Regions from separate parts of the Homo sapiens genome. Here all the other regions are linked to region 5. Evidence: promoter capture Hi-C in 16 types of primary human blood cells and fetal thymus (Javierre and others, 2016). All regions are on one chromosome and are shown on one strand. Each heading gives the region's core, a stretch centred on a gene start or on the middle of the fragment in contact. The rest is flanking DNA. Distances are from core to core; before and after follow the strand shown. Region 1 has its middle 21 kb from the start of COX18. Region 2 has its middle 59 kb from the start of COX18. Region 3 has its middle 40 kb from the start of COX18. Region 4 overlaps LOC105377273 (a long non-coding RNA gene). Region 5 holds the start of ADAMTS3 (ADAM metallopeptidase with thrombospondin type 1 motif 3). Region 6 has its middle 130 kb from the start of COX18. Region 7 overlaps COX18 (cytochrome c oxidase assembly factor COX18).

Region 1 (3,876 bases), core at 242-2,741, 480 kb after region 5:
GCACTTTTAATGTCCTTCAAGAACCTTTCCTTTGCATTCACAATGTGGCTGTTTGGCACAAGAGGTCTAGCTTTCAGTTCATCTTGGGTTTTGACATGCCTTCCGATTTAAAATGAGATATGTCGGTCTTCCTTTCACTTAAACACTTAAGAGTCCACTGTAAGGTTATTAATTGGCCTAATTTAAACATTGTTATGTCTCAGTGAATAAGGAGGCCCAAGGAGAGGGAAAGGGATGGGGGAATGGCCGGTACTGGGGCAGTGAGAACATACACGACGTTTATGGATTAAGTTCACTAGTCTTATAGGGGTATGTTTCATGACACCACAAAACAATGATCATAGTAATATCAAAGATCACTGATCGAGCTAGACATGGTAGCCCACACCTGTATTCCCAGCACTTTAGGATGCTGAGGTGGCAGGATCACTTGAGGCCACAACTTGGAGACCAGTCCAGGTAATATAGGGAGACCCCATCGCTACAAAAAATATATATACATATATAGTTTATTTTAAAAAATAAAAAAATAAACACTAAGATCTCTGATCACAGATCACCATAACAGATATAATAATGAAAAAGTGTGAAATATTGCAAGAGTTGCCAAAATGTGACACAGAGACACAAAGTGAGCACATGATACTGGAAAAAATGGGGCTGATAGACTTGCTTGAAGCAGGGTTGGCACAATCCCTTAATGTGTAAAAAGCACAATATCTGTGAAACACACGAAAGCAAAGTGCAATATAAGGTATGCCTGTATATAAAATAAACATACATAGATACTATACATATAAATGTGCATATATGTATATATTAACGTCTTCAAATAGAAACACACAAAGAACAAAGCTATGTATTAATTCATTAACATGGAACTCACAGCCAACAGCATTATAACTCACTCCTATAATATGTAAATAATGAGGATTGACTGCATTTTAAGTAAAATAACACATTATCACATAGATATAGAGTATAAGTTCCAATAATTCATCTGTAAGTCTTTCTCTCTGTTGGGGAGGGGATTAGAAATAAAGATGAGGAAGAAGATATTTCATTTTAAGATTGTATTTTGTTGCGAGTTTAATTTTAAATGGGAACTTGTTTTTGTTTGGACCACAAAACAGAACATTTAACATCTGTACTCAAAAACAATATTGATAAGCATAACTGAAGCTTCTATAATAAACTTTACAAGAAGAAAATTTCTTACTTTTAGCAGCCCACGAAATAAATTTTAAATAGCATAGAAGAAGCTGCAAATTCTCCCTATAGGTACAGATTTTATATTTTTAGTATGTCCACCCTCAGAGGCATCCATCATTCACTGAAAATCCAGGAAACTTGAGGTTTGTGGCAATAAAAGTGACTCTATATTGGATGCTAATCTGCCATGTTGACTTCTAATTAACCCCAGTCCTAAAGACGCCTCCTGAGTCCTATTTTATTTACTGTCCTTAGTGTAAGAACATGCCGGCCATTAGATCCAAGCAACCTTGATGTTATCACACAAATTATAGGCTATGACCACATAGCAGTCTTGCCTCTTCTGGAGGTTTGCCTTTAACTGTCTCTATACAGCATGTACACCCTTTCCTTATGGTATAAAAGCCCTGGGTCTGGGGAGTATTGATGCAGAGGCCTACCTGTCTTGCTGCTGCCCAAGACCATGCTTCCATCTCTAAGTTCCCCAGTAAATCATCCTTTACTGCAAACTGGTTTTGTCTGCCTTGTTCTTTGGTTCCTTGGGTCCTTCTGCATTTGGGGGCTGCTTTGTGCATGTGGCCCTTTCACAGAAGCTTATAATTAGAAAAAAATTCTTCAAATTATTAATTGTGCAACAGTTGGAACATGCAGATATACAAAAACACAAATGCTATCAAATGAATATAGTAAGGTATATTTCATATTCCATTTTTATGTTGTCCTGCAGAGCTATAATTTTCCCAAAAGACAAAAATCAAAGCTAAATTAAATACAATACTGCCTTCCCAATTCCCAGTTAAGGCAAAACAAATGTATTAAGAATTGCCTCATCAGAGGTACAAAGAGAGGGAAGCATGCCTGTGAAATCTCAAAATGGAAAAGAGAAATTGGTCATTTTCCAAAGTGGCCTCTTTCTAATGAAATTCTAGCAGAGATCTTCAAGGATAGAAATTTGGGCCAGGTGTTGGGGCCAGAACAGGAGTTCAAAACCAGCCTGGACAATGTAGCAAGACTCCATCTCTACAAAAAATTTTAGAAATTAGCTGGGAATGGTGGCATGCACCTGTAGTCTCAGGTACTCAGGAGGCTGAGACAGGAGGATTGCTTTAGCCCAGGAATTCAAAGTTGCAGTGAGCTAAAACTGCACCATAGCACTCCAGCCTGGGTGACCAAGTGAAAATCTGTGTTCCAAAAAACAAACAAACAAACAAACAAAGGATAGAAATTTATCTTTTGTTGCCTTAGAATAATTCAATAGGAATGGTTGAGGTTGCTTTCTTGAAGCACTGATTTTTATTTCAGGTCTTTCCATTGATGCGTTTGTTCTAAAACACAAAAAAAGTCCTTATTTTATAAAACAAAACCAGCAGTATAGGACTAGGCAATTGAAAGTAAGGCTACCTTGCAACACTTACCTAAACACCGGTCAATAAAGAAGGTAGTCAGTTGTAGAACACAAGGAAACATGGTCCCTCTGTTACTCACGCTTTGGGTAAAGTTTTGTCTCCCTCAAGTTCAAGTTACAGCCCTCCAAAAATTTAGTGTTGTGAGAAGTAGGCAAGGCCTGTTAGGAAAGTGCTTCCTTAGTTTTAATATAGTTGATTAACAAAACTTGAAAATTTTCTAGCTGTTCCTTGCCTGCTATTTGTTTTTCCTTTTCTTGTGCTATCAGCCAGACCTTGTGGTTCTTTTTTTTTAAGACAGGGTCTCACTCCTGTTGTCCAGGCTGGAATGCAATGCAGTTGGAGTTACCTGGTTCACTGCAATCTCTGCCTCCCAGGTTCAATTGATTCTCCTACATCAGCTTCCTGAGTAGCTGGAATTACAGGCATGTGCCACCACACCTGGCTTATTTTTGTATTTTTAGTAGAGATGGTGTTTCACCATTTTGGCCAGGCTGGTCTCGAACTCCTGACCTCAAGTAATCCACCCACCTCAGCCTCCCAAAGTGCTGGGATTACAGGCAGTGAGCCACTGCACCCTGCCAACCTTGTGGTTCCTATGGATGTATATCAACCAGGATCAAAATGCTTTTATACGTAGTGTTTTTTTTTTTTTTTCTCTGAGACATTGTCTCACTCTTTTGCCCAGGCTGGAGTGCAGTGGCATGATTTTGGCTCAATGCAACCTCTGCCACTCGGATTCAAGCAATTCTCCTACCTCAGCCTCCCAAGTAGCTGGGATTATAGGCACGTGCCACCATGCCTGGCTAATTTTTGTATTTTTAGTAGAGACGAGGTTTCACCATGTTGGCCAGGATGGTCTCCATCTCTTGACCTCGTGATCCGCCCGCCTCGGCCTCCCAAAGTGCTGGGATTACAGGTGTAAGCCACCGCACCCGGCCTTATATATAGTTCTTAATTGGGATTGTGGAGGGACTTAGTTGAAACAGATATGAAGGCTAGGCTTTCTGAGCATGGGGATAGAGAACTGTGGAGAAAGAGGATCCTCTTTTGGTGGAACTAATCCTTTTCCTTAGGGGCAATCTCTAAAGCCAGATTAAAAAATTAGTTTATCAAAATTTTGGCTTTGGGTTGATCCTAATTTCCACAATCTTAAAAGAAAATTTTCAAAAAGATGTAAAATATCTCCAATAGATTTCTTCAATATCTTTCTCTTGGTGGTAATAAGCAGCGCAAACTAATATACCTACTAAACATAATT
Region 2 (4,294 bases), core at 962-3,461, 440 kb after region 5:
GGGCTTTAAAAGTGTTCTTTGGTTGCAACCTTGTACCAGTAAATGAATAAATAAATAAATAAATAAACACAACCTCTGAGAAAAAAATGTAATTAAAAAAAAACCAAGCTTATTCATCAAAGCTCAAACAGTACTATATTTAGGCATTCCTGTAGAAAGCACAATGAGCTAACAAGAGAGGCAGCTGACTATTCTGCAGAAAATGGGCTAAGCCTCAAAAAGTATCACAGAAAAAAATAAAACATTCATTTAACATTTTTTCACATTCACTTACAAAGTACAATTTATTCTCACATCTCTCTCAAATTTTTCTGCACTGCTCATACCCAAAGCCTACCCCATCCCAGTAAATGGCACTGAAATTCATTCAATTGATTACACTTAAATCCTAGGAATCATCTTTTTTTTACTCCACACCTCACATCCAATCAATCAGTACATCCTATCAACCTTACTTCCAAACTATATTCCAAACCCAGCTGCTCCACACCATCTCCTCCCTATGCAGCCAACCCAAGCCACCATCATATCTGGTCTGGAGTATTTTATAATATTCTCATTGGTAGTCTCCCTGCCTCAAATCTTACTCCCTGATGATCAAAAATCTACTCTCCAAAAAACAAATCAATTGATTTTTTTCAAGTCTAAATCAGATCCCAACATGTCATACTAAAAACCCTTCATTGTCTTTCCTTTGCAATAAAAAAAAAAGTCCGAAACTACTTGTCAGGGCCTCCTGACTCTAGGTGTTCTGTCCCCCTCTCTGTTCTCATATCCCTCCCTGTTCTTTTTTCTGTTCCTTGTGTAAAATTGGTCATCTTCACACTTCTGTTCTTTTTCTTGGATATATACAAGTTGTCTCATTAAGGTAACAATTCAAATGTCGTCTCCTCAAAGAGGCATTCCATATGCACTCTAGCTAAAGTAGTGCTCATCTCAACATTCCTCACTAGCACTTCTTCATAGCAGAACTGGCATAAGATTCAGATCAGAAAACAGAAAAGATAAGATCAGAAAACAGAAAAGATAGGTCAATTGAGAATACCCAGGGAAAGAAACAGAAAGAAAAACTAATGAAGAAAATGAACAGAGCTGGACACCTGTAGGAAACAATCAGGATACCTGAATACACATAATCAGAGTCCCAAAAGGAAAGAAGAAAGAGAAAGGTGTAAAAAAATTGTTAAGAAATAATGACCAATAACTTCTCAAATTTCGTTTTTAAAAAACATTCATCTACACATCCAAGAAGCCCAATGAATTCCAAGTTGGATAAACTCAGAAAGCAGGTACATTGTTCACTGCTGCATTTGCAGATCCTAAAACAGTGCCTGACACATAGAAGACCTTCAATAAATATTTGTCAAATCAACAAACAAATTAATCTTCATTTCACAAAATAGAAACCTGAAGCACAAAAAACAGAGTAATTTGCCCAAAGCCAAACAGCTAGTAAGTGATGGAATCTGGTTCTAAATCCAGGAAGTCCAGCTACATGCAACAGAGCCCTCAATCTTAATCCCACACTAGTCTACATCACGTACCAGCCCTAGTGGTACTAAAGTGTTTGAATCTGCATCTTCTGTGTGAAACCCATATTGCATAATTAAACACCTCCTGCTGTTTTTTCTGCTTTCATATGAAGGACATGACGTTTCTGAAACATCACTCCTCAGATCTTCAAAGACAGTGAAGTATAGTGAAAAGAAATGGCCTCTAGTGTTACACAGACCTTGATTTAGATCCCTAATTGGGCTGTATATGAGCACTGTCACCTTAGATGAGTAATTTAATGCGCCTGCCAATTTTCACATCTTGTTAGGCATAGACAGTTATAATATTTGTACAACACACTGGGTCAAAGTAGCACTTGGTCAAAGGTAACTGGCTTGGGAATCCAACAGCCCCAAGCCCATCCCACCCATCGCCAGGGCTAAGAACATCTGAGTAGTCCTACAATCTATTTGCAAACACAACTCTCAGCACGCTCTAACTTACCCAGCTTTATTATCTTTAAAAATGGGGCTTTGGTTCATAAAACAGGATAAATGATGTCTACTTCATAGAGTACTTGTGAAATATAAATGAAACATCATAGACAAAATGTTTACTAGTCTCTATTACCATGCTAGGTGCTCAGTTAATGGCAGTCATGATCATCATGGTATTAATATCAGTGGTAGCATTTGTTCACAATTTCCATGGGATCTCTATAACCAAGGAGCAGCCTGGGCCAGATTCACCATGCGTGTCCATTTCTCTGCTTCTGATAACAATGAAATATTCTTGCAGATTACTTTTCGTTTACTACTGATGGCCGTGGCAAGCCATCTGGAGCAGCCATTGTGACAGGAGCAGCAGTGGTAGCAGTGGGTCCCCTGTGCCTTATATACCCTGTGCCCCATATCCCTGAGGCAGCTGACTGTGCCACCCCCAATCTCACACAGCCAGGCATGACCTGGCCCCAGGCCCAGATTCACTGCTGCTCCAGACCCTGGCCCCACATCACCACTCTCGCCCATTGCCATTGCAGGTAGGGCATGGAGAGAAGTGAACAGTCCCCTGAGCCCTCCCCTGGAAGCTCCCAGGAGCCCACCACCCTGGGGGCTGCTGCAGTGGGGTGAGGTCAAGTCACCTACCAGCTAGGGAGCAGCATGGTCAGGCACAAAGTGGTGGGCAGAGAGGGGCCTCGAGACAAAGCTGGACCCGTGGTGGTACTGCACCTGCACAAGGAACATGGCAGCTGGCCCAGGGCACAGAGCTGGGGCCATGCTTCAGGGGTCAGGCCAGGAAATGGGCGCCACACCCACTTCAAGGACCTGGCCAGCAGACCAGCCACCATGCCCACCCCAACAACAGTGCCAGGTTCCTGCACCTAGGGAGGATGCTGTATGTGGGGTAGCCCAGGGCCACATGCCTAGGGTCTGCCCCACATCACAGTGACTGCAGAGCCTGACCCTCCTGATGGCCAAGACTGGGGCCCACAATCCACTCCTGGAGTCTCTCCCCAGGCAGGGCCAGGAGCCAAGGGAGGGAGAGCCCTGGGCCACCCCTGAGCACCTGGCCATGGGAAGAACTCACAGCAATGTCTCCCCTGCCCCAGATGATGGCCAGGGTGCAGGGAGAACCTGGAGCCCCTGCCCCAAACTGCAAGGAGGTGTGGGCAGGGCTGCATGCTCCACAAAGCCAGTGGGAGCCAGGGACAAATGGGAGTCCCACCCCTTCTGAGTTGGCAGGGCAAGAACTCCCTGGGTGCAGCTGTGGCCACCCTGCCAAGGCTGTGGATCCATGTATCTTTGCACTCTTGGGAGCCCACAAAGGCAGCCCTGTCTCCTGTGGGCTCAAGGGTGCCTGCTGCTGCTGCCTGGCTTCTCCCTGCTGTTGGCTCCTGCTCCAATCTTGGAACAAGATCAGGGCCGAGCCCAGGTGCTGTCACAGCCCAACGGCAGCGGGGGAACACACTCAGAGCAATGTTGACATGCCAGCCTCCTGCCACCTCTTGGCCCCTCCGGATTTGGGGTGCTGACAAGTAAGGGAGGGAGGTTGAGGAGGGGCTGAGGATAGTCAGGTGCTGGCCTGCAGGCACGCCCTGGCACAAACAGCCTGGGTTCCATGAGCTGTGGGAGGAGGCAGACAGGGTTCTGGGTGGAGGGGACCAGTCTGGTGAAGCCCCACCTTCAAGCTGGGGAGGGCCTGAAGCCTGGGGGCCCAGCCACCAGTCCCCTGGACTAGAGGGGGAACTTGTGGTGCTTTTCCCTGGGCCCACCTATGGCCACCCATGGAACAATCAGCACAACTTCCTCCACTCTGAGGCCCATAAAAACCCCAGACTCAGCCAGGCTTGAGGAAAGAGACAATGGGGAGACCAGATGCAGAAAGGAGCTGCCCATCCCAGGGTCTCCCCTCTGCTGAGAGCTCAGGAGACAGAGGGATGACCAACTGCAGAGAGGAACTACCCTCTCTGCTAAGAGCTGAACACTCATCTGGACACCCTGACTACAGAGTGAAGCTGCCCACTGCAGGTCTCCTCTGAGCTGTTCTACTGCTCAATAAAGCTCCTCTTTGTCTTGCTTACCCTTCACTTCTCTGTGTACTTCATTCTTCCTGGTTGCAGGACAAGAACTTGGGGCCCACTGAATGGTGAGACTAAAAGAGCTGTAACACGAACAGGGCTGAAACATGCCCCTTGCTTGCCATGTTGCAGGCAAAGAGAAGAAGAGGAAAGCTGCAGCCCTTTGGAGAGCCCAGACCTGGGAGTTCCCCCAAGTCAGGGCTGTGACTCCCTTTTTGGGGC
Region 3 (4,204 bases), core at 971-3,470, 460 kb after region 5:
TCTACAATGAACTCAAACAAATTTACAAGAGAAAAACAAACAACCCCATCAAAAAGTGGGCAAAAGATATGAACAGACACTTCTCAAAAGAAGACATTTATGCAGCCAAAAGACACATGAAAAAATGCTCATCACTGGCCATCAGAGAAATGCAAATCAAAACCATAATGAGATACCATCTCACATCTGACTTTTTAATGTCAATCATTAAAAAGCCAGGAAACAACAGGTGCTGGAGAGGATGTGGAGAAATAGGAACACTTTTACACTGTTGGTGGGACTGTAAACTAGTTCAAGCATTGTGGAAGACAGTGTGGTGATTCCTCAAGGACCTAGAACTAGAAATACCATTTGACCCAGCCATCCCATTACTGGGTATATACCCAAAGGATTATAAATCATGCTGCTATAAAGACACATGCACATGTATGTTTATTGTGGCACTGTTCACAATAGCAAAGACTTGGAACCAACCCAAATGTCCATCAGTGATAGACTGGATTAAGAAAATGTGGCACAAAAAACCAAACACTGCATGTTCTCACTCATAGGTGGGAACTGAACAATGAGAACACTTGGACACAGGAAGGGGGACATCACACACCGGGGCCTGTCATAGGGTGGGGGGAGGGGAGGAGAGATAGCATTGGGAGATATACCTAATGTAAATGACGAGTTAATGGGTGCAGCACACCAATATGGAACATGTATACATATGTAACAAACCTGCACGTTGTGCACATGTACCCTGGAACTTAAAGTATAATAAAAAAAAAATTGCTAGCTACAAGGATAGAGCAGCCAGGACTATTTCCCTGAGTTAACTTTAAGTCATGATGCCTGAACCACAACTAGTTATCTAGTTGCAGTTTTTGCAGCTGCACCAGTGCCCCGTGTTCTGCGGCAGGAACTCCTGAGAGAGTTGAGGGCTCTTTTCTTCAGGGAGACACATTTTTCTACTTCTGATGTGTGGGTAAGAGGGCATGCAATGGCAAACTGTTAGGAAATCCCATCTGAGTACTGGAAAAGACCCAAGGAAGCTGGGACTGATTTAGAATAGAGTTCAAATTTATACCTGTCAGATCCCTGCTACCTCAAGCCATGAGTGTTGATGCAGCCAGGCTGTTTTCCCCAGACTAGGGGAATTAAAGATAAGTAAAATCCAAGGAAAAGCTTGCAGGTTAAGTTGGACAGTCTCTATTATTTTCCTGTCACTATATGAGAAGCATGGCTCACTCTCACCTATAAGACCTAACAGAAAACTTTTGTTTATTGTGAGGAAAAGAAAAAAAAAAAGGAAAAATAAAAGAAAAAAAAAGGAGAGAGGAAAAAACAAACTCTTTCTCCAAGTACCTCCTGAAGTGTTCTTTCTGTCTAATGGGGGATGGCAGAATATGCCACCCCAATATATACCACTTCAGCATAAGAATTACTTTGCATTAAAGGCGTTTGGAAGCCAGAGGTGCAGGAAGATGGATTCTGACTTCCTCTTTTCTTTTCAAAAGCATGAGACAAAACGCCCACGTGAAAGATGCCCTCCTTATACCAGAAGAAAAGAAATATCCTTATCACCAGGCACAGGGAGTCGAGGCAGAGAGAATTTTGTACAAAAGGACCTTCATAAAATAACTCTTATCTTTCTTTCGTTTCCCCATATACAGGCAACCCTCATTTTATAGTGCTTTGCTTTATTGCACTTTGCTATATTGTATTTTTTACAACTTGAAGGTTTTTGGCAATGCTCCTTTGAGCAAATGTATTAGTGCTATTTTCTGATGGCATGTGCTCATTTGGTGTCTCTGTGTCACATTTTGGTAATTCTCACAATATTTCAAATGTTTTCATAATTATATCTGTTACAGTGATCAGTGGTCCTTGATATTATTATTGTAATTGTTTAGGGGCACCATGAACCATGCCCATATAAGGCAGTAAATTTAATAGATAAATGTATGCATTCTAACTCCTCCACTGACCAGCCGTTCCCCATCTCTGTCCTCCTTGGGCCTTCCTATTCTCTGAGACACAACAATATTGAAATTAGGCCAATTAATAGCCCTACAGTGAACTCGTGAGTGCTCAAATGAAAGAAAGAGTTGCACATCTCTCACTTTAAATCAAAAACTAGAAATGATTACATTCAGTGAGTAAGGCAAGTCAAAAGCCAAGGTAGGCCAGAAGCTAGGCCTTTTGTGCCAAACAGTTAGCCAAATTGTGAATGCAAACGAAAAGTTATTGAAGGACATGAAAAGTGCTACTTCACTAAAGACACAAGGGATACAAAAGCAAAACAGCCTTATTGCTGAAAAGGATAAAGTTTTCATGATTTAGATAGAAGATTAAACCAAACACAACATTCTCTTAAGCTAATGCCTAAACCAAAGCAAGACTCCAATCGTCTTCAATTCTGTGAAGGCTGAGAGAGGTAAGCAAATTACAAAAGAAAACTCGGAGGCCAGCAGAGGTTGATACATGAGGTTTAAGGAAAGAAGTTGTCTCCATAACATAATAGTGCAAGGTGAAGCAGCAAGTGCTCGTGTAGAAACTACAGCAAGTTCTTCAGAAGATCTAGCTACGATAACTGATGAAAGTGACTATACCGAAAAAAAGATTTTCAATGTGGACAAAACAGTCTTGTAGTGGAAGAATGTGCCATTTAGGATTTTGATAGCTAGAGAGGAGAAGTCAATGCCTGGCTTCAAAGTTTCAAAGGACAGGCTGACTCATATTATGGACTAATGCAGCTGGTGACTTTCAGTTGAAGCCAATGTTCATGTACCATTCTGAAAATCCTAAGCCCTTAAGAATGATGCTAAATCCATTCTGCCTGTGCTCTGTAAATGAAACAACAAAGCATGGATGCCAGCATATCTCTTTACAGCATACTTTACTGAATATTTTAAGCCCACTATTGAGACCTACTTCTTAGAAAAAAATATTTCCTTCAAATTTTACTGCTCATTGACAATGCACTTGGTCGTCCAAGAGCTCTGATGGAGATATACCAGGAAATTAATGTTGTTTTCAAGCCTGCTAACATAGTATCCATTTTGTAGCCCATGGATCAAGAAATAATTTCAAGGAGTAATTTTTCCTTGAAAAATATATTTCTTAAACATGACTTAAAGTTGAAATTACTGCCATGGTTAGTGATTCCTCTGATGGATCTGGGCAAAATACATTGAAACCCTTCTGGAAAGGATTCACCATTCTCAATGTCATTAAGAACATTTGTGATTCAACGGAGGAAATCAAAAGACCACTAATAGAAGCTTGAAAGAAGTTGATTCTAATCCTCACGGGTGGCTTTGAAATGTTCAAACTTTAGTAGAAGTAAGTGTAGATGATTGCAGACGATGAAGAAATTGCCACAGCTACCCTAACCTTAAGCAGCTGCCACCCTGACGAATCAGCAGCCATCAACATCAATGCAAGACCCTCTACCAACAAAAAGATTACAACTCACTAAAGGTAAAGGGTCAGATAATTGTTAGCATTTTGAGCAACGAAGTATTTTTTAAATTAAAGTATGTACATAGTGTTTTCTTAAACACAAATTCATTTATTATAAAATACATGAAAGAGAGTTTCAACTCAGGAAGTTATCAACAGAAGTTTATGTCAACAGAAGTTATCAAGAGTTAGCCACATTTATTTTTCAAATATAATTTAATGAAATAGAAATAATAGTAAAGTTAAAAAGAAAATCTAAAGCTATTTATTTTAATAAGTAAATTATCAGATAAGCTTTGCCAAGTCTAAACAATTGAACAAAAGAGAATAAACATAATAAATCCATAGGAATAAATAATATAAAATATTTTATATTATAAAAGAATAATCTATTTATACCAATACACTTAAAAATAAAAAAATTGTCTAAAATTATTTTAAGAAATATAAACTACCAAAATTGGCTTAAAGAATAAGGCTGGGCACAGTGGCTCACATGTGTAATCCCAGAACCTGGGAGGCCAAGGTGGGAAGATCACTTGAGGCCAGGATTTCGAGACCAACCTGGCCAATGTGCTGAAACCCTGTCTCTACTAAAAATACAAAAATTAGCCAGGTGTGGTGGTTGGCACCTGTTGTTCCAGCTACTCAGAGGCTGAGGCAGAATTCCTTGAACCTGGGAGGTGGAGGTTGCAGTGAGCCAAGATTGTGCCATTGCACTCCAGACTGGGCAACAATAGCGAGACTCTGT
Region 4 (3,741 bases), core at 305-2,804, 410 kb after region 5:
GCTCAGCAGTCTCCTCTGTACCCCTCTGCCACTTCCCTTAAAAAGGGAGCCCCTCGGCTGGGTGCGGTGGCTCACCCCTGCAATCCCAGCACTTTGGGAGGCCGAGGTGGGCAGATCATGAGATCAAGAGATCAGTACCATCCTGGCCAACATGGTGAAACCTCATCTGTACTAAAAATACAAAAGTTAGCTGCGCATGGTGGTATATGCCTGTAGTCCCAGCTACTCGGGAGGCTGGGGCAGGAGAGTCACTGGAACCCAGAGGTGGAGGTTGGAGTGAGCACAAATAGGGCCACTGCACTCCAGCCTGGGTGACAGAGTGAGACTCCATCTCAGAAAAAAAAAAAAAAGGGAGCCTCTTTTGGCACACCCCTTCAGAGACTTACCCCACTTTTACAATCCTTCAAATTCCTATGTGTCCCATTTTCACTGGCCCTACCCACTGGCTAGGTGCCTTTTAACTATCTGTTTCCACTTGGATATTTTAACAACCTACCTGAAGTTTAGTTTCCCAACTGTAAATAGTGATAATACCTCTTCATATAGTCATTATGAGGATTAAGGAAAGTAATAGATATAAAGCACTCAAATTAAGGTGCCCACCACAGTTGCCACCATTACACAATACCAGTAGCAATATCAATAACAGTACTAATAATACCCAAATACATATATGTGTATTTTAACAAAGTTTTGGTCAAAAGAGACTTCAAGCAACAGAAAAGACCTGTGGAAAAGTTACTTCAACCAGAGCACATGGTAAGAAACGTTAAAAAAGCAAATGAGATTCAGAGTCTAAGGGATTACACTCAATTCCCCAGCTGGCGAATGGAAGAACAGAGACAGGAACCCCAATGTCCGGGCTCTGAGTGTATTGCTCTCTACATTTGAACATCCTCATCAGTGCTCAGCACTTGCCTGGATGGCTAGTACAGCTGTCTGCCAAGAAGATGTCCTTGTGTTTTTCCTCATTGCTGTACATACAGCCTTCAGACAATTCCATAGCTCCATGGACATTTGACCACCCACAACTCAAGAACAACTTTCCTTTTGCCATTGGCTCTTAGCACACATAAATTGCTAATCCTTTCTTAAACTGCTAGGTGAACCTCAAATTCTCATGGGACTCAAATTTCTTCCAGAGGGCTCATTAGGTAAAGGGAGATTCCAAGGAACTCTTTCCTGATTGTTCCTCACTGGAACAGTTCAGTGTGAAAAATAATGACCACTCCTAAGTTCATGTACCTAATTGCCTCTGTCTATCCTGTGGCCTTCAATTAAAGTAAGATCACCATCCGGTTTTTTCCAACTTTTTGTAGCAAGATTGAGAAGGGATGGGGTGGGTTTTATTGGACACTGAGAGGAAGGTTCCTGTAACAGCCACATAAAGAGGTAATGTGGGAAAGCCAAAGTAAGCAGACGGATTTAAAACCAGCTGGAACACCACCAGGAAAGAGGTTAACACCCTAAGCTTTCCATGAACTTTTCTACTGCGAGTCCTAAGCCAGAGGATCCTTCATCATCAGAAATGATTGGAAACCTGGTTTCAAACTCCCTGGAAAGATGAGACAAGAAATGCATAACAGGGAAGGATTTACTTAGGTTAATTGATTAATTAATGACCACACTTCAACGGCTCAAGCTTACTTTGTGGGTGTAAATGTATGAGTAATACTCAAAACCACAAACCTAGGAGCAATAAAAGAGCTTGGGTTGAAAGTTCTACTTTCAGAATTATCCTGATTTTCCTCTGGGCAACTAGGGAGACGAAAATAAAGAAACCAACAGGAAAACTCATAAATCTGTGACTCTGGAAGGAGAGGGTCACATTCTACTTGGAGAGAAGACGCTTTACCCAGGTCCAGTAGGAATTACTTTCTGTGATGTGTTGGGAAGTGAATCCAGAGCAGAAAGGTCCTTTTCAATTTGTATCTGGACTCGTCTACCTCGCCATTTTGTTCACCCACACATTACCACTGCCTTTACCCCAGGTGAGCTCCACACACCAAGTCACCTTTGAAATAGAATTACACTTCTGATGGACCTACCTCCTAAATAGCTCTCCAACCAGGGATGAGTACCTGGGGACCCAGTAGAACCCTCAATTTGTATTGACTCAGAACCCAAAAGAAAACAGAGAAGAACATGTGAAATTATCAAGGTTTTTGGTCAATTCTCTGGCTATGAGTTAGTAATTTCTTTCCACCAGATTTCTGGCTTCTCCTTGTTATGGTTGAATTGTATTAACCATTACCCAAATTCATATGTTGAAGTTCTAACCCCCAGTACCTCAGAACGTGACCTTATTTGGAAATAGAGATGTTGCAGGTATAACCGGTTAAGATGAGGATATACTGAAGTAGGGTGGGCCCCTCATCCAGTATGACTGGTGCTCTTATAAAAGAGGGACATTTGGACACAGACACTCACTGAGGAAAAATGATGTGAAGACACACAAGAGTCATGTGATGACAAACGCAGAGATTAAGAGTGGTGCGAGCCAGGGAATACCAAGGATTGCCAGCAAATGCCAGAAGCTAAAGTGGTAAGCAAGGATTCGCCCCTACAGACTCAAGAGGGAGCCCTGCTGACACCTCAATTTCAGACTTTCACACTCTAGAACTGTGAAACAATAAATTTCTATTGTTTTAAGCAACCCAGTTTGTGGTACTTTGTTATAAAAGTGCTATTTTAAGAGGCCGGGTGCAGTAGCTCACACCTGTAATCCCAGCACTTTGGGAGGTGGAGGCAGGTGGATCACAAGGTCAGGAGATCGAGACCATCCTGGCTAACATGGTGAAACCCTGTCTCTACTAAAAATACAAAAAAAATTAGCTGGGCGTGGTGGCAGGCGCCTGTAGTCCCAGCTACTTGGGAGGCTGAGGCAGGAGAATGGTGTGAACCCAGGAGGTGGAGCTTGCAGTGAGCCAAGATCCCGCCACTGCACTCCAGCCTAGGCGACAGAACGAGACTCTGTCTCAAAAAAAAAAAGAAAAAGTGCTATAAAAGTAACACAGTGATCTATCACTGAAATTTCTGTAATGATCTATCAAACGGACATATTTGTTAAACAAATATGAAACTAGCTCACTTTGAAAAATATTTGTTACCCACTTTAGAGTTTCACTTTCTCAATTTCTGAGAGAAATTTCAACAATGAATTTGCCAAAATTTATCAAATAACTATTTACTTTTTACTCTAATTACAGTCTCCTTGTTTAGGAACTAAAGTTAGATAAAACTAGGGCAAAATCAACCCTACATATCGGAAATTAAACATTTTAGCTTCCTCCTCCCCACTGATTATGTAAAGAGATAGTTTTTTAAGAGTAAGATCATGACTCTCATATAAAGTTATAACTCTCATATAATGTTAACACATGTTGATATGGTTAGGCTTTGTGTCCCCACCCAAGTCTCATCTTGAATTATAATCCCCATAATCCTCATAATCTCCTCTTGTCAAGGGAGAGACTAGGTGGAAGTAATTGGATCATGGGGGCAGTTTCCCCCATGCTGTTCTCATGATAGTGAGTTCTCACAAGATCTGATGGTTTTATAAGTGTTCGGTAGTTCCTTCTGTGTTCATTCTCCCTCCTGCTCCCTTGTGAAGAAGGTACCTTGCTTCCCCTTCACCTTCCACTGTAATTGTAAGTTTCCTGAGGCATCCTCAGCCATGTGGAACTGTGAGTCAATTAAACCTCTTTCCTTTACAAATTACCCAGTCCGAGGCAGTACATT
Region 5 (4,158 bases), core at 219-2,718:
GATTAATCAGATTTAAGGTCAGGAATCAACTAGACAATTCTCTACTTTTTACCCTATGGTCGTTCAGACCAGGCCGACCGGAGAAGCTACAAAAACTAACAGAGAAATTCTGTACCCAAAGTCCCATCGGCCCAGTGCTGATATGATTTACTACAAACAGCTCCCCTGGCGGAGCCTTCTCAAGGACTCTTCTGAGAGCATCGGGCTTCACCTTGAGCCTCCAAAGGGTTGGGGGCAGGGCCGAAAAGAAACAGAGCTGCACTCAACTTAGCTTTAAAAAGAGGAGGAGTTGTGCAGAGGGGGAGGGGAGAAGGCGGCCGGCGCCTGCAGCCTCTGCCCAGGAAAACGGAGGGCAGGAAACGTCTCCAGCCCCCCTCCCCAACTGTCAAATCCTAGCCCGGCCGTGGTACTCCCAGGACACGTGTCTACTGGATCTCTCCCTGTCCGGCCCAAGGACTTCCTGAAACCCCCGCCTCCGGCTGCCCGAAAAAACCGTGAGTCAGTTCGGAGGAGAGAAAGCTCCAGGAACCCGACTCTGGCGGCAGCAGCCAGAGCGCTGGGATCCCGGACCCAGCGTCCAGAACTTCATTCAAGCGCCCAGACCGCCCTCCAGAAAGGGGAAGCCCAGATGGCCCGGCGAGGATGGGAACTGGCTGCGGTTTGTCACTAGGAATTGTTACGAATGTCGCAGACTGGTGAAGCCCTAGGTGTGACAAGACTGGGCTCCCGGAGTGGGAGTCGTAACCTCCCGTGCAACTCAACCCTCTACCCCCAAAAGCCCGCACGCTGCGCCCAGCCCTCAAAACACCGTTTCTGAACGCAAAAGATAACAGGGAAGGGTGGGAGGAGAAGGAGGAAAGAGAGGAGGGTAGAGAGGGGAGGAACTTTTCGGGAAAAGGTTGGGTTTGAGTTTTTTTTTATTGTTATTATTTTCCACTTACTTGTCCATCAGCTGAAGTCCTAACCTCTACCAGAGCGGCTGCTATCAACCAAAGTGACAGGAGAACCATCACGAGTCGAGTTCACTTTCCAACTACTGGGCAAAGCAAATGCCCAGAGCAAACCCACCCCCCCCGCCCAAAATAAGTTTCTTTAAGAAAAAAAGGAAAAGGGAAAAAATGCGAAATAGAAAAAAATGATCTTCTGTGCTTTGCTTCAATGAAAATGAAATTTGAGCTCTGAGACTGGCCCCCTCTGCTCTGCAGTTTTTTCCACTTCACCTTCTCACCCCGTCCTCCCAACACAGAGTGTGCAGGAGCGAGAAGGTGCTGTAAGCGGGCACAGGCTAAGCCTGGGAGAGGGGGAAGGGACGAGGGGCTTTCCAACTATCTCTGCCCAAAGCAGCTTTTTCGAGGCTTTTCGAGCACCATTGGTCCCTAAGGTTAGCGCGGAGAATGCTTGGGTTCCCCGGAGCACAGCAGGGGGAAGTATTAGCGAGAGAGACGAGCGAGCGGGAGCGGGAGAAAGAGGCAGGGAGAGGGCGACTCCGCCGCACACGCAGAGGTGGGGGCGGGAGGAGCGAAGGGGAGGAGGAGAAGGCAGGCGGAGGAGGTGGGAGGAGTGGGCCGCTCGCCGGCTCCTGTTGCTCGCAGCGCGGCAGTCTGCTGGCTGCTGGCGACCCGCGGGGCGCTAATAAGGCGTCCGGAGCTCCCCGGACTGCCCCTCCCGCCGTGGCGCCCACGTCATGCGGGGCCCGAACCCGCGCCCCCCGCACCGTGTCAGGATTGGAGACCGCTCGGGGGCTGGTGTGGCCCGGGCTCGACCTCCCACCCTGGAGCCTCTCCTTCTCCGCCTAGGGCGAGAGGAGGGGAGGGTCCAGGGGCGCCACCGGTCCCGACTGGCGGGACGCGCGTTGAGTTAATTATAGGAAGGGGGAGGGTCCGAGGGCTGGTCCTGGGCTGTAGGAAATTCACCTCCTCCAACCTCCACTGTTCTCCCAGCCAGAGAATTCTCCCCGAAGAGAAGCCCTGGAACCTCCAGATCTTAACCACGCGGTGATCTCCCTTCCAGGCACCAGTCACCTCCCACGTTTTGGCAGGGGGTGTCCTTCTTTGTAAGCTCTTGTTTAGGCTTTATTCGTTTATATTAGTTTTAAAAGATACCACGTCCTTTCCTTGACTCACCCGGATGCTTCCGTTTATCACTAGAGTACACAGGCCTCAGCGACTCTTCCTCACACCCAGATTAAGTTATCAAATGATTTCTGCCCGCTGTGGCCTGGCGCTTCCTGAGGGGAAATGACACCAACCTGAGAGTTTGCTGGAATCCTAGCCCAGGCCCACCTCCCAGGCGTAGACACCTGTGGGTGCTTTCCAGAAAGCAGACAGGAGGAAAAGGAAATAGCTCCAACCTCCACTGACCGGTCCACGAGCCAGGAGTGAGTAGACACAAATTTAGATACGAACTTCAAGACTTCAACTGGACAGTCTTGAAGAGGCCTGCCCACAATAAAACGAGCTAGTGTTTATCTTGTTATGAGATGCAAGATAAGTCATAGTTCTTGTTCTTTTTTAAAAGCAATGTGAGTTTGGAGGGTTTCCTATAACTTCGATTCATTGTTTATTCCTGGAGAGGTAACGTGATGGTTGTGCCTTTAACTTAAGCATGGAAAGATTTGGTGTTCACTGATGTTTTATCTGCTAAGTCTTCTCAAAATCATATATCGAGGACATTTACATATACAAATGAGAAACTAGGTAACTAAATGGCCCCACCTAGTAAAACAGGATATTAGGTCAATTAGTTATTAATTGGAATTAGAATTAGACCCCAGCACTGAAGTATCTCTAAATTACTTTTTTCCTTCAATTAAAGCCTGTAGCATTTTTGTAACTTGTCATTAACTAGCTATCCAGGAGTGATTTGCTACATTTTACACCGAGTTTGTCTATTCATTAAAAAGAAGTAACCCTAAGCATTCCATAAATGAAAAATCTGTCAATTTACACTGACAAGTAAAAGAACACTAGAGATACACATTAGGAGATCTAGGTTCTAGACCCAGCTAACAGCTGTCTTACCTTGACAAGTCAGAATAAACCTCTATTTTGGTTTCTCCTCTATGAGATATTTGAGATCTAAAATCATCTGATTTTAGGTAATAACAAATAATGTATTTAACCATGTTATTACAGTAGGCCCTTTTGTGTTAATTTTACAACATTCAGACATTAGTTATCACCTAACTCCCGGCATAGCAAGCAATTCATGTGACTTTCAGGAAAGCAGCGGCTTCAGACATTTTTGGCCATCACCACAGAGAGAAATGCATATTGCATAGCGACCCAGTAAAAATTTCATGATTCAGTACTTACCTGTACTGCATGCAACAACCCTGATATTTTTCTTGCCATTCTTTCCCTGCAACCCCAATTGCAGATGAGCACTCAATTGATTTCACAACCCAGCAAGTCATGACTCTCACTTTGACAAAGATCAGTTTAAGAGCATGCAATAGGGTTTTTTTTTAATTCTAAATGAGTTCTAATTAATAGGGTTCTCCTAATATATTCTAAGGCAGAGTTTCCCAAAGTATTCCCTGGAATATTAAATGTTTTACCAGGAAAAGGAAAATTCTCAGACAGCCAACTGAGCTCATGAAATACTTAGATAAATGAAACAAAATGGCTCTCCTTATTTCAGACTTCAGGGTACCTATTTAAACAAACACATTTGTAGTCCCAGCTACTCCAGAGGCTGAGGCAGAAGAATCGCTTGACCCCAGGAGGCGGAGGTTGCAGTGAGACGAGATTGTGTCACTGTACTCCAGCCTGGGCGATAAAGCGAGACTCCGTCTGAAAAAAAAAAAAAAAAAAAAATTGTGAGTCTTCAAGGGGGAGATGTAGTGCAATTTGGTCTCCTTACTTACATGACCATAGAATCCTTTTTTCTCATGCTTTATCCTCTGTGGAACACACATGGGTAAATGACATTACAAAGCCCAACTATTAAAGCAAAATGAACTTCAAGTTAGATAGGTTGGATTCTCATGAGGATTCAGCTTCAGTTTTCTCAACTCTAATATCGGTTTCATAGTACTACTTTTGCAAACTCTTCATGAAAATTAACATGATCTTACATGTAAACTCTAGCACATTGTCTAGAATATGTAAAGGCTTCAGTGTAATTTTTTGAATAAAACTGATGGCATATGTACAG
Region 6 (4,205 bases), core at 1,521-4,020, 370 kb after region 5:
CAAGTGAAGGCAACGTGCCCCACCGACAAGGATTTCACTATAATATAATTAGAAATAGTAATTCTTTCTTTCTCCATTGTAGACAGGAAATCACTAGCATAACAAGTAGTGGCTTCAGATTTACTTAAAGATAACACGTGAATGAGTTATCCAAAAAGAGTTTGTCTCCCTTAATGATTAACACATTTTATGACAGTCCTTCAAATGATGGAGAAATACTTCCCAACATCATATTGCCTTCTGTAGTTCCTGCACATAAAATATCCCTTTCCCTGATGCAGAATTTCTTTCACCCTTTTTTTCTTTGCTCCTTTGCCAACTGTATTTTTATAGATGTTCTCCATCACATTTAACTTTCAATGTGAGTGCTGCTGTCTGAGGAAGCAAAGAAAAGAAACTCTAAGATGAATATAATTTGAATGTGTGAAGGGAGAACTCTTGGAAGAAGAAAAGAACGTTCTTAACTGGTATACGTAAGTGTACGACTCTGTATTCTATATGATTGAGTATACAAATATATAAAATATAATGTTCAGTTTTACGTGGATAACAAATAGTAAGCTCAAGTACTTATTTGATATAGATTTTAAACTAAGAAAAACCATTCTACACTTTTTAAATGTCAGAAGAAATGAATTGTTAATAAGCTAAAGACAAAATCACAAGGTTTAAAAAAAATGGCTCAGATATTCACAAGCCCTCTTATCTGTCTCTCATCTCATTCTCATTGGCCGGGCGCAGTGGCTCACGCCTGTAATCCCAGCACTATGGGAGACCGAGGAGGGCAGATCATGAAGTCAGGAAATCGAGACCATCCTGGCTAACATGGTGAAACCCCATCTCTACTAAAAATACAAAAAATTAGCCTGGTGAGGTGGCGGATGCCTGTAGTCCCAGCTACTGGGGAGGTTGAGGTAGGAGAATGGCGTGAACCCGGGAGGCGGAGCTTGCAGTGAGCCAAGATCGCGCCACTGCACTCCAACCTGGGTGAAAGAGAGAGATTCCATCTCAAAAAAAAAAAAATAAAATAAAATAGCTCAGATATTCACAAGCCCTCTCATCTGTCTCTTCTAGTTTCGTATACACTGTTAGTGTTACATAAAATCTATTGTGTTATAATGTGATCCTGTGTTCCTAAAATTTAGTTATCCAAATTCATGCAGTAAAAACAATTGTTTCAGTGGAGGAAAAAGAGATTGGGGGCAAGAGAGTTGCAAACTCAACAATAAATTTAGTTTTCCTGCAAGACTTTCAGTAATAAAATTGGCTTCTTAATGAGTTTAAGTACATAGCTATAAATGAAACTTATAGTTCTTGATAATGACTCAAGAAAGAGATCTTGCTTTCATATTATTGCACTAAGATTAACACATTATTTCTGAGTTTTATAATGTTTTTTATTCATTTTTATGAAGAACAAACATCAACAACAGATATGCTACTGCAAGCCAAGAATTATTTTACCCCTATATTCTGGATGCCAGTTTTTCATTATGATTTCTTGCATTACAGCCATGTGTTCTATGTAATATAAGTCATATTCTTTTATTAATCATTACTTTTTAAGTAAGGAAAAATGGCATTTTTTTCTCAAAATGAGTATTAGCAAAAGAGTTAAAATATAAAAACCATAAACTCACTGATAAGGTCTCTCCTTCCTCCACAATGACCACAAGATTTAAGAATATGGAAGGTACCTATATGCGAGGACATTTTAAGTGCTGCTCCTGCTTGGGACTGGGAACAGAGCATATGATAACTATTCTCTTTCTCAAGGGGTAATCTATAAATCATTATCAGTAGACATCTAAAAAGGTATTATGATACATGTAATTTGCTCTAAAATAGTTCAGCAAAGACAATGTAGTATTTAAATTAATACGCCAGTGAGTTTAAGTTTCCACTCTAATGTAAGAAATTACTCTATAAAGGAGTAAGGATACTTACTCCAAGGATAGTTAGCAGGTATTATTTCAGAAAGGTCACACTCCGAGGGGGGCACTGCAGGCATTTTGATTAGCCTTATCTCTTCCGTCAACAGCTCAGACTTCACTAACCAGCACAGGAAGTATCAGAAATGGCTTTTATTAGCAACTTCACTGGTTTGTTATTTAGCAAGATAGATTTCAGAAATAGGCTCGAGGTATTCAGGACATGAATTAGCTAAAATATTTTCATGATTTTTCCTAAACATACTTGAACAGAGTCTACGAATCTTGGAAGCTTCTGTCCTGCACCCTTATAGGTAATGATCAGGCTTGATCCTTAAAAGTCCTCCTTTGAGCTCTTGGATTAGGAGGAATTTCAGTTGCCTTGTTCTTACTTCTGTATTGATATATATGGTTCCTCAAAAAAAAAAAAAATCATTCTTGTAATGAAGTGGCCAAAGCATCTAAAAAGACAGAAGACTGGGACTTCATCAAGCTTACCTAACAAAGTATATAAACAGCTGTGTCTCTATTTGCCAAAATATCTGAATGTATGGCATTTTTGGTTTAAGAACTACTTTCATTATGACCAAGTAGCCAGGTCATAGGAGAGTAACTTAGAACAAAAAGTTCCAACAAAAAGTGCTATAGGTGATTTAAGACTGGTCATATGTAATCTCAAAGTTTATGTCCTAGTCCCAAGCTAAGTTTCTATATGGTACTGAATAATATCTTATTAAAAGAGAAATTATATTTATTCTTTTAATTCTGCTGAGGGCAGCTTAGAAGGAGTAAGGGATGAGTGAGCTTGGGAAAAATAGATGGCATATAGTTAACTGCTGCAGTAGTTCTTGGACTAAAAAATTTTGAAAACTACGGCTCCAGAGGAATTTTCTGGTTCTTCTGCCTCCTTTGGATGACAATATTCCCAGAATAATAATTTATCCCACGGATAAGGCAAAAGAATGGTGAACAGAGAAGCACAGAAAAACAACTTGAGGAGACAGATGACAAATTCATCAGGTGAAGGATGATTTTTTAAATTTGAGCCTGAATTTTCAATATCTCTTAGTTTCCAAATCATCTATACTCTAATGCTTATAAGAAATGGGAACATCATGTAATTGAGTGAAATTAACTGGATGTAATCCTGGTGGATTGGAAAGCACATACCTTATCTAAAACAAGAAAAGCTTCCCAGTTCCTGTCAATAGCAGCCAGGTTGAAGCATGGGTCAGATCTTCCCATTTTTCTAGAGAATTCCAAAATACATATTAAATAGGAAATCTCCTAAACGTTGCAGGTTTACTATTAATACTGCTGCAGGAAAGGATTAACTCAGCAGGTCTGGGTTGTCCACATCCTACCCATTCCAATGAAAGGTTGCCTGGTTCCTGGAATGTAATCTCTAAAGCCTTGGAATATTTTGTTCAACAAGAGTATTTTGTTTACATAAGGGTCTTGGACCACACCAGACAGTCTATACTAAAATGTAATTAGTGTTGGGGCTTTGGACCATGTGGTATCTGCTTGAGCTCTAGAAGAGCTGGCGACAAATGTCAGGCACACAGCCAGTCACCCATAGTTTTGTGATCAACCAACAAAAACACTGCATGTCAAAAATCAGGTGAGCTGCCCTGGTTAGCAATATTCCCTGTATGTTATCATACTTTGTTGTTGGCAGAGGACAAGTAGAAGAAGCTTGTGCCTGATGTTCCCTGAACTTTACCCTATGAACTTTTTCCATTGTTGATTCTAATCTGTATCCTTTTGCTGTAATAAGCCATAATCATGAATAAAATAGCTTTTCTCTATTCTGTGAGTCCTCTACCTAATCATTAAACCTAAGTGTGGTCATAGGGAACCCCAAATAGAAACACTAATGTTTAAGATACCAGATAGAACCAACTACATGGGGCATATTTGGGTGCAGATCATCAGTTTGGAACTTCCGATCTCTAATTCTAGCTCCCTGTGCCGAGGTCAGTGTTAGAAATAAGCAAATGCCAATGTTGAAGCAGAACACTGATGCAGAGTAGGCACAGGGGAGTTTTTGATTGACTTTAGGGGAAAGTTTAGGGAAAAAATTCTGGGGAATTTAAACTGGGTTGAACTCACTGGAAATTAACATTTGTCTTCTTCGGGTAGACACTGAAAGGATATCAGGGTTTTTGTAGCCTTAAATTTAATACAGAGACCAAAGTTATATATTTAATTCTAAAATTTGCCTCTAATTCTTCTTTTGTGTGTTGATTCATAAAAATATGTGATGTTACT
Region 7 (3,908 bases), core at 1,352-3,851, 500 kb after region 5:
TATGGTAGCTATTGTCACAGGATTCTTCAAGCTCCACTTAACAATGATTTATATGGTAGCTACTGTCACAGGATTCTTCAAGCTCCACTTAAGAATTCTGCGTAAGGCTGGGGGCCTGTAATCCCAGAACTGGGAGGCCCAGGCAGGCCGATTGTTTGAGCTCAGGAGTTTGAGACCAGCCTAGGCAATTAGGCAACATAGCGAAACCATCTCTACAGAAAATACAAAAATTAGCTGGGCGTGGTGGCATGTCTGCAGTCCCAGCTATTCAGGAGGGAGGCTGAGGTGGGAGGATCGCTTAAGCCTGGAAGGCACAGGTTGCAGTGAGCTGAGATCACGCCACTGCACTCCAGCCTGGGTGACAGAGTAAGACCGTCTCCAAAAAAAAGAAAAGAAGGAAAAAAAAAAAAAGACTTCTCCATAATTATGACTCTAGAGCCAAACTACGTAGTTTTACATTTTTATGCCTCACTTTCTCTGCATTAAAAAAGGATAATATTTAGCTCACAGGGTTATTCCAAGAAGTAAATGAGTTGATTTATGTAAATTGCTTATAACAATGCCTATGGCCAGGCACAGTGGCTCACACCTGTAATTCCAGCACTTTGGGAGGCTGAGGCGGGCGGATCATTTGAGGTCAGGAGTTCCAGACCAGCCTGGCCAACATGGTAAAACCCAGTCTCTACTAAAAATACAAAAAATTAGCTGGGTGTGTTGGCGGGCGCCTGTAATCCCAGCTACTCGAGAGGCTGAGACAAGAGAATCACCTGAACCTGGGAGGTGGAGGTTGCAGTGAGTGGAGATCACACCACTGCACTCCAGCCTAGGAAACAGAGTGAGACTCTGTCTCAAGAAAAAAACAAACAAACAAACAAACAAAAAACACAATGCCTTGCACATAGTGTATGTTGAGTAAGAATAAGCTTTTAATAAGCTTTTATTTTTCTTTTAGAGGTGAGGTCTTTCTCTCTGTCGCCCAGGCTAGAGTACAGTGGTGGGATCACAACTCACTGCAGCCTCCATCTCTTGGGCTCAAACAATCCTCCTGACTCAGCTTCCAAGTAGCTGGAACTAGAGGCGCACGCCACCATGCCCCGCTATGAAAACACCTTTATTAGTCTTTAGATGACATAGAGGAAAAGACTAGGGGATTGACATTGATTCACTGTAACCTTGTGCTTATCACTTCCTTCTTTCTACCAAATATTCACTGAACACCAACCACAGGGGACTGTGCTAGTGCTCTTAGGGAAACATATTTGGACTACAGGTAGAGTCTTTCCTCAAGAAACTTTCACTTAAGACCTTATATTCTATCATCTCCATTTTCCTCATCTGAAAGAATAAGGGGTATATTAGATTTCACAAACAGGCATCAGAGGTCATGAGGTCTGGGAGATCTCTACTGAGGTAAATCATTTTTAAGATTTCTTCCAGTCCAGTCTGTTCTACTCAGAGTCTGAGAACAATTTATGAAATTATATGCACGCTTTCCCTAAACTGCTGAGTAAAGCAGCCTGTGATAAGGGTTAAGACATGACTGAGAGGGCTGGGCACAGTGGCTCATGCCTGTAATCCCAGCACTTTGGAAGGCCAAGGCGGGTGGATCACCTGAGGTCAGGAGTTCGAGACCAGCCTGGCAAACATGGTGAAACCCTGTCTCTACTAAAAATACAAAAATTAGCCGGGTGTGGTGGTGTGCGCCTATAATCCCAGCTACTCAGGAGGCAGAGGTTGCAGTGAGCCAAGACTGCGCCATTACACTCCGGCCTGGGCAACAAGAGCAAAACTCCATCTCAAAAAAAAAAGAAAAAAAAAGACATGACTGAGAGGTCACATTTTCTATGTGTATGTTTTTCCCATTTCATCTTATAAAGACATTCAATGACTTTTCTAAGGTCATAAAGCAAGAAAATAGCAGTCAGGGCCTGACTTGTGTTCTCCGCCTACAAATTCACATATTAAACACACACACGGAACATCACTCTATTTTAAGAATACAACCAGATTGACTGGGCATCTTTATTACTGTTTTTGCCAAAAGCAAGTCACAAAATTCTATGTATCAGAATCATATAATTTTGAAGCTGAAAGAGACTTGGAAGTATACTAGTGCTTTTACTTTAATTTCGAGAGTTCTGAGGCCCAGAGAGGTTAAGGGACAGGCCTAAGCCAATGCCTGACGTGGAACCAGGAACCAAGGGATCTCACTTCTAACTCAGAGCTATCTTCACCAACTCAAACAAAAACAGATTTGAAGTCAAAACAGCAGCAACAAAAATCCCCATAAATGGCAAACAAATTTCATTTAAAACTACTGACCTCCACTATTAACAAATTGATGACGCCAACAGAGATAGGCAGAATCCAAGTGGAGTCGGGTGCAGTGAGGTCAGGAAACCACAGAATTCCACCAGTAGCTAACTGTTCCTGAACAGAAAAACCTGCTAAAACAGTTTTATAAATAAAACAATAGAAGTCCTAAAAATAGCAGAGAAAAATATATAAGACATAAATAAGTAGTCTGACAATTCCAATAAGGTGTCCCTCACAGGAAAGATCTGCACTGGATTTATTCCAGTTTTTCACGCACAATATATATATTTTTTCTCAATACAAAATGTTCACAACACAACCAATCTGTTTACACTTAAGACTTTAAATTCTATACCCTTATAAGGAAGATAGTAAACATATCGTAATTATGAAAAGTATGCTTTTTTTTTTTTTTTTTTTTTTTTAGTACAAAGACAATGTTAGAGAACTTCTTTGGGAGAAGACATACAATAATTACCTTCTGAATGTGCTGCCCCCGTGCTTAAATTCCGGAGAGCAAAAGACATGAAGATCCACATTGGAAGCTGAATCCAAACCAACACAGTGGCTTTGAAAGGGTGGCAGTTATCTCGCACATATAGCTCTGAAATTAGCCTCCTCATATTCTTTAGATAAGTGAGCCTAGATTGAGGTTAGGGGGAAAAAAGGGGAAAGAGAAAATGTCATCTAAGAATCGTGCTTTATTTCCATAGCACAAATAGCGCCTGCTGTAGTTATTAGCTAAAGGATTTGTATAAGGGTTTCAGCTGTCACAGGCATGTTAAGGAGTTGCCTAAACAACAGGCAAATAAAGCCTTTTATCAAAACTTCTACAGTATGGTACACAAGTTACATAACAATCTGAAATTGTCAGACTACAGGCTTTGTCTCTGGTGGTCTTTGGCTGATTAGGCTTTAAAGGTAAATTTCACTACTGACATGGTATAACTACAATTAATATTGGAAATATGGAAGCTAAAAGCAAACTTTAATCAAATCTCTCCACTCCCGCCAAACTTAACCACTTCATCCCTGAATATACCTTTTGGAGCTATGTGGTTTTATACTGTGTATGCTCTTGGCCTGTCAAAATAGTCTCCATTTTTCAATCAACTATCTCACAAAGATATTTTTAATCTGTTTCTCTGTTAACCATATTAGTTACTACTGTTTTTTCCTGAAATTTTACTTTTTAGAATACAGTCTTCCTTCAGGTCCAAGAGAATAGGAGTTAAAAAACAAAAACTAAAGTATTCTTAGTTTAGGGGACAGTGTTCTATTTTATTCATCTTTAAATCTCCTGTATCATATATTTTGTACAGAGGAGGCATTCAATAGTTTTTCTGAATTTAGTCAAATTATAGTGTATAATAAGACAGTACACAAAGACATTCTAGGTCCTCCATAATTTCACATTTGCCTATTCTTCCAATTTTATCTCGTTACTCCTCTAGACACCTGCATATTCTGGTCTGAATGACTTTAGTTCATCCAACAAATCAGACTTCCGCATAGGCATGCCTTTGGAAGTACTGTATTATATCATCTGTGTGGAAAGCCCACTTTCCTGGCTGTCCATCTGACACACCGTC

Evidence for each region. The method cuts DNA at HindIII sites, captures the fragments that hold promoters and counts their contacts. A CHiCAGO score of 5 or more calls a contact.
Region 1: a contact is called between a fragment that was not itself captured here and the fragment with the promoter of ADAMTS3 in region 5, in 1 of 17 cell types (erythroblasts). The highest score is 6.7, in erythroblasts.
Region 2: a fragment that was not itself captured here is called in contact with the fragment with the promoter of ADAMTS3 in region 5 in 1 of 17 cell types (megakaryocytes); the score reaches 6.5 in megakaryocytes.
Region 3: a fragment that was not itself captured here is called in contact with the fragment with the promoter of ADAMTS3 in region 5 in 2 of 17 cell types (endothelial precursors and megakaryocytes); the score reaches 5.8 in endothelial precursors.
Region 4: a contact is called between a fragment that was not itself captured here and the fragment with the promoter of ADAMTS3 in region 5, in 1 of 17 cell types (endothelial precursors). The highest score is 5.4, in endothelial precursors.
Region 6: a contact is called between a fragment that was not itself captured here and the fragment with the promoter of ADAMTS3 in region 5, in 1 of 17 cell types (megakaryocytes). The highest score is 6.6, in megakaryocytes.
Region 7: a contact is called between a fragment that was not itself captured here and the fragment with the promoter of ADAMTS3 in region 5, in 1 of 17 cell types (erythroblasts). The highest score is 7.0, in erythroblasts.

What each region holds. Positions count from the first base shown.
Region 1 is chr4:73,046,581-73,050,456 of GRCh38, forward strand. No RefSeq gene overlaps it. Among named protein-coding and RNA genes, the nearest start is that of COX18, 21 kb to the right of the region's middle. The HindIII fragment of the contact is 623 bases long and covers 1,181-1,803 here.
Region 2 is chr4:73,008,407-73,012,700 of GRCh38, forward strand. No RefSeq gene overlaps it. Among named protein-coding and RNA genes, the nearest start is that of COX18, 59 kb to the right of the region's middle. RefSeq lists an enhancer at 3,162-4,057. The HindIII fragment of the contact is 4,210 bases long and covers 107-4,294 here.
Region 3 is chr4:73,027,337-73,031,540 of GRCh38, forward strand. No RefSeq gene overlaps it. Among named protein-coding and RNA genes, the nearest start is that of COX18, 40 kb to the right of the region's middle. RefSeq lists a silencer at 1,336-1,630. The HindIII fragment of the contact is 2,099 bases long and covers 1,172-3,270 here.
Region 4 is chr4:72,976,650-72,980,390 of GRCh38, forward strand. All of the region lies in intron 1 of LOC105377273 (a long non-coding RNA gene), which reads left to right. It overlaps LOC107986286 (a long non-coding RNA gene), which reads right to left. Exons shown (of 3, transcript XR_001741718.1): 3 at 2,939-2,953. Among named protein-coding and RNA genes, the nearest start is that of COX18, 91 kb to the right of the region's middle. The HindIII fragment of the contact is 171 bases long and covers 1,470-1,640 here.
Region 5 is chr4:72,567,753-72,571,910 of GRCh38, forward strand. It overlaps ADAMTS3 (ADAM metallopeptidase with thrombospondin type 1 motif 3), which reads right to left and starts at 1,469. Exons shown (of 22, transcript NM_014243.3): 1 at 942-1,469. The coding sequence starts at 1,010. The HindIII fragment of the contact is 9,487 bases long and covers 1-4,158 here.
Region 6 is chr4:72,940,761-72,944,965 of GRCh38, forward strand. No RefSeq gene overlaps it. Among named protein-coding and RNA genes, the nearest start is that of COX18, 130 kb to the right of the region's middle. The HindIII fragment of the contact is 697 bases long and covers 2,423-3,119 here.
Region 7 is chr4:73,062,456-73,066,363 of GRCh38, forward strand. It overlaps COX18 (cytochrome c oxidase assembly factor COX18), which reads right to left. Exons shown (of 6, transcript NM_001297732.2): 3 at 2,795-2,958; 4 at 2,323-2,447. Among named protein-coding and RNA genes, the nearest start is that of COX18, 5.3 kb to the right of the region's middle. The HindIII fragment of the contact is 3,339 bases long and covers 933-3,908 here.